Linked DNA regions of Homo sapiens: region 1 is linked to region 2. The links are contacts of gene promoters, found by promoter capture Hi-C in blood cells and fetal thymus (Javierre and others, 2016). All regions are on one chromosome and are shown on one strand. Each heading gives the region's core, a stretch centred on a gene start or on the middle of the fragment in contact. The rest is flanking DNA. Distances are from core to core; before and after follow the strand shown. Region 1 overlaps BRWD3 (bromodomain and WD repeat domain containing 3). Region 2 holds the start of ATRX (ATRX chromatin remodeler).

Region 1 (2,700 bases), core at 97-2,596, 3.0 Mb before region 2:
CAGCCCGGAGTTCCGGATTAGTGGAAGAAAACTGGTTTCTGGTTGGTCCTGGCCTGAAATACGGGAACTAAGGCCAGGCTTGGTCTTTTTTGGGGGGGGCGGGGGGGCAGGGGGGAGGCGTGGGAGGAAGGGGCTCTGGAGGGGAATTGACGGACCAGGGATTAGGAAAAACGACATAATTAAAAATAATAAGGAGCGTCAAGCCAATTTCAAATTTTGCCGGTTAGGTAATGGTCTACTGAGTAAAAGCATAATCGTTACGTATCTCCGATTTTATAAGCTCATTCAATTATCAGTTAAGTCGCATTTGCATAGACCCGTTTTCACTAAATAGAAACTGAGTTATCACTTTTTGAGAATTGGTGAAACACGATTTTGGGTTTACAAGGAGACAACAATGGACATATTTAAAAATGGAATATACTTTAGTGAAGGACCAAAGGCATTGGTCTATGTTGTTTCTCCTGCAAATATAATTCATAGTATAAATGTACCTTGTGTTCAGCATTGACACACAAAAACAGGTGATCCTTTTTATTTTGCGGGGGAGGTTCCCTTGTGTTAGCTGCTGCCACAGTGCATTGGAGGGTAGTGAAAGGAGAAAGGAATGATGTTACTAAAATCTAAATTCAGCTATCTTTCCTTCAAGTAAGATCCAAGTGGAGGAAAATCGGACAAAGTTAAAGAAAGTTGGCGGTGTATGATAGACTCTAAATATAAATGATTTAAAATTTGCTTGCAATAAGACTATATTTAAATTGCTTCAATGTTCATTTTGTTATTTTTGTTTGTGTTATCTTACAACAGTGAGGCCACATTATTATTATCAAGTCTACCGACTGTATAGTTTTCTTATATTTTGCAAATCACAGAAAATGGTATAATTGTGATAAGGGTAAACTCGACCATCTGTATTATTAATAGTAACAATTTCTCAGATGGAGAAAAATTAGTTTTGAAAAACTTCATGTACTGCCAGGTTAATTTGTAGTCAGTCTTTCTGTTGGACTTAAGTCTTTCCCTCCCCCTAAAAGAGGCAAAAACAACAGTGCCTACTAATATGTTTTAACACTTAATGACTGATACAGGTTTTTATATATAGTTTTAATACTGAGGTGTATTGAAAATGTTTTCCTTTACATTTGTCCTTCTCACAGCCTATATGTGTTATTTTAAGCAAGTGGCAAAGGAGATTAAAAGGAAAAAGCTTTTTTGAAACTAACTTGACAGTGATAAAAAGGAAATGAAAATCAAAGTAATTAAAAAATAGTCTCCTCACCAAAAAAACCCCAACAACCCAGTTTACTAGACTTTTCCTCATATTGTAAAGACATTTTTACATAATTGTGATCAGTGTCCATTTTATGCTTCATATTTTTCTTAACATTTAAAAATGTACTTGTGTATTTGAATAGTCATCATTATTTTAATGGTAAGAAAAAATTCAGTTGTATTTAAGGTACGATATGATTTGAACCAAGCTTCCAGTTGAGCATTTGAGCTACTTCCAGATTTTTACTAATAACTTTGCATAGTTAGGTGGTCTTTTTCTGCTTTTTACTTTCTCCCCTATCCCTTCTGCCCCCAGTTATTTTCCTGGACTTTATTCCCTAAAGTGGAGTTACCAGGTCAAAGGGTCTCATGAGTTTTATAGCTCTTGTCATATATTGTTTGCTCTCCAGAAGATTGTACTAATTTATAATGTCATCATCTAGGTATTTAGAGTGAGTTTTTTAATAGCTTTAAATCATTCAGTTTCTTTAATATTTAATAGATGGCAATAGCTCCTGGTTGACTTAAGTAGCTCTTTTTTTTTCATTACTAGTGAGGCTTAACCTTTAAGGAATTAAATAAAATTGTTAATTCTTACATATACTCAATTTTAACGTATCTTTTAAATATTCTTTTCTGTTTTTATATTTTCTATTTTTTTTACGTACACAGAGTTTGTTCTGTTGTTTGAACATTATAGTTTAGATACCATGGTTTTCTTTTACATGTCTGTTCTCTACCTATGGACTTCTTTGTAAGAGAAGATGGGCAGGGTTGAGTGATAATTTGAACAGAAGTGTAGTGGCTGAGAAGTGAATGTGCAGTGTTGGTTTGATTGCTAAGTTTGTCAGTAATATTTTTGATTAAAATTATTTCACATATGACCTGATTTTGAGTGGCTGCATTGTAGAAGAGATGGGATACTTTTTCTTGGGGTAGGTGTTTTTGTTTTTTTCTTTTTTTTGAGAGGGAGTCTCGCTCTATTGCCAGGCTGGAGTGCAGTGGCGGGATCTCGGCTCACTGCAACCTCCGCCTCCCAGGTTCAAGCGATTCTCCTGCTTCAGCCTCCCAAGTAGCTGGGACTACAGGCACGCGCCACCACGCCCAGCTAATTTTTGTATTTTTTAGTAGAGACGGGGTTTCGCCATGTTGGCCAGGATGGTCTCGATTTCTTGACCTCGTGATTCGTAAACCTCAGCCTCCCAAAGTGCTGGGATTACAGGCATGAGCCACCGCGCCCGGCCTGGGGTAGGTATTTTTTAAATTGTTATTGGAATGATAGATTTATAAAGTGTGGTCTTTGATTTAGCTGCATGTTTTGGATTGAAATTTAGGGCAAAGTATTAATAGTATCATCTTGATTTACCTGGAATATTACATTATATAGCAGCATTACAAACTTAAGGTGTATTGGGGTATGAAAAGGAA
Region 2 (2,700 bases), core at 53-2,552:
ACCTCATCTATACCAATACATAAATACATAATTAGCTGGGCTTGATGGCACGCGCCTGCAGTCCCAGCTGCTTGAGAGGCTGAGGTGGGAGGATTGCTTGAGCCTAGGAGGTCGAGGCTGCAGTGAACTGCGTCACGCCACTGCACTCCAGCCTGGGTGACAGAGCTAGACCCTGTCTCAGAAAAAAAAAAAAAAAAAGTTGCCTGAGCCTATCAGATTTTCAAAGTGTTTCATTCAAAAAAGGCTCCCCTCTTGCTATCCCAGTAGAAAGCAGCAACCCTGTCACCTAACCCCGACAGGAGCTCTTGCATATTTCAAGAAAAATAAATAGAATGAACTAAAGCATGCATGGCAGAATAAATTTGGAAATAAATTTCGAAGCGATTAGATTTTAGAGGACTTGTTTGTGATTAGCAGAGATTACCAATGTAAAATCAAATTATAGATCATAAAAGCGGGAAAGGCATTTACAGATCATCCAGCCAAGCTTCCTCTGTAATGAGAAGGAAGCAGATCTAAATTGATTGGTTTGTGAGCTAAACATCACATCAAATTGGGGAAATGGCCCGTGTGTGTGTGTGTGTGTGTGTGTGTGTGTGTGTGTGTGTGTGTATTCTAAGAGACACTTTATTCAATATGGAAAGAATTTTATGCAGCGTTCAAGTTGGTCTTATGTCGTCTGCACACATATACATATATATAAGTATATTATACACATATACATTTCCAAGCATGTTGGTGTGCCAAATATTATGTATAAAACATCTAGGAAAGCAAATAACTTGATGATAGCCTAGCATATAGGAAAGAAAATACTTACATAGGATGGCCATACAGATTAGTGGTTAAGAGTGTCTGGTGAATCTCGGCTCCACTACTGTGGGACTTTGTGTCTTGGTTTCCTCATCTGGAAAATGTAGGTTTGTCTACCTCAGAGAGTGTAAAGATTAAATGAGATAACCCGGATAAAGGATTAGTGTAGTGCCGAGCATATAGTAAACTCTCAATAAATGTAGGTTGCTGTTATTACTTCGTTAATATGTCAAAGAAAAAAGAGGTTGGACCAAAAGAGCATTTTCAAAATAAAGTCAAACTATGTCACTAGCACTTTCAGGTCAATTGGGACTAAATTGGACCCCCTGCGAAAAGGTGGAGGGGATCAAATGACGTCGACCGCCTTAGCAACAGGCCCCCAAAGAAGGTGAATTTCCGTAGCCAATAAGACTCTGTGCTTTGGAGGAGGTAGCCAATGGCTGACGGAAAGAGAAAGAGGGAGGACGCGCCAATTCTCCTGCCTGAGCCTCGGCCCAACAAAATGGCGGCGGCAGCGGTGTCGCTTTGTTTCCGCGGCTCCTGCGGCGGTGGCAGTGGTAGCGGCCTTTGAGCTGTGGGGAGGTTCCAGCAGCAGCTACAGTGACGACTAAGACTCCAGTGCATTTCTATCGTAACCGGGCGCGGGGGAGCGCAGATCGGCGCCCAGCAATCACAGAAGCCGACAAGGCGTTCAAGCGAAAACATGACCGCTGAGCCCATGAGGTAAAACGCAACCCCGTCTCATGGGCCCCAGCGGTCTGGGCCCAGGCACCGTCTGAGTCGGGTGTTTGGGAAGGCGTTCGCTTGGTGGGTTAGGCCTGTGTGTTGCTTAGCCGAAAGAGGCATCGTTTTCTCTTTAGGTGAGAAGGGTTTCGGGGTATCGGCGCAAGGCTCCGACGGGGGTGGGGGTGGGGATGGGGTGGGGGGAGGTGGGGGGGGCGCGGCCTAGGGTATGGGGCGCTTCTTGCAATCTCCCCTAAACGGTGACGCTTGGTCGGGCTCCTCTGTTTATTCTTTGGTGCCTGTGGGATTGAGACCTCGAAGTCGGAGGCGGTCTTTGGTATCCCGGTCATTTTTGCTAATCTTTGGGCCTAGAAACTGCGTGGGGAAGAAGCGGGGGGAGGGTGAGAAGAGGGGGAGGGGTGGGCGGGCGCGAGGATGTGAGATCCCAGGACGACTTAGAGGCGTTTAGGTTGCTGGAGATGGGAAGCACCCGGGCCCTGCGGGATTTTTTTTCTGCAGCCCCAGGAGACAAGCCTTTTTTTGATTGGGTTGTGGTGCAGTTCCAGGTATTTAGGTATCTTTTCTACTCCATATCCTGAAGGATATCCTTGGGTTTATTTCTAGGCGAGGGGGGACTTAACACAGGGTTTTGCTTCCAGAGGACCCTAGTATACTACTTTTTGTGATGTCCAGCCTTAATGGGACCTCAAGTGTTTCCCCACTTTCTGGGCAAATTTCGAGGAGTAATTAGGCCCTATCTTTATTTACTTATTTATTCCATGAAGGATGAAGGGCAGGTTAACGTGGGCTGATGCGAAGTAAGATTTATTGCAAGGGAAAATGCCTGGCAGGCCTCCTCTTAACCAATCAAGCACGTTTATTAGGTTGAAGCTGTTTTTCTGTGTGCTTCTGATTTGCCTCTTGACGGGTCTGAAAATTTGGGTAGTCAATATGAAATGTATACACTTTTACCCAGGTGGCTGGCTGGCGTTTCAGTTTGACATTTGAATTTTCATCCCACAATGTGAATTAAGTAATTTTTTTACTCGGAGATGCATCCTTGGCGTCCAGTGGCAAAATAAAATTACAAGGAGCATGGGTCAGAATTGCATTTCAAGTTGGCGAAATGTGCCTTTGAGTAACTCTTAGATTGGCATATGTTTT

What was found. The method cuts DNA at HindIII sites, captures the fragments that hold promoters and counts their contacts. A CHiCAGO score of 5 or more calls a contact.
Region 1: a fragment that was not itself captured here is called in contact with the fragment with the promoter of ATRX in region 2 in 1 of 17 cell types (total B cells); the score reaches 6.0 in total B cells.

Annotation. Positions count from the first base shown.
Region 1 is chrX:80,805,470-80,808,169 of GRCh38, reverse strand. All of the region lies in intron 4 of BRWD3 (bromodomain and WD repeat domain containing 3), which reads left to right. Among named protein-coding and RNA genes, the nearest start is that of BRWD3, 3.1 kb to the left of the region's middle. The HindIII fragment of the contact is 274 bases long and covers 1,210-1,483 here.
Region 2 is chrX:77,784,818-77,787,517 of GRCh38, reverse strand. ATRX (ATRX chromatin remodeler) reads left to right here and starts at 1,302. Exons shown (of 35, transcript NM_000489.6): 1 at 1,302-1,536. The coding sequence starts at 1,517. RefSeq lists enhancers at 1,229-1,418, 1,429-1,538 and a silencer at 1,639-1,688. The HindIII fragment of the contact is 7,766 bases long and covers 490-2,700 here.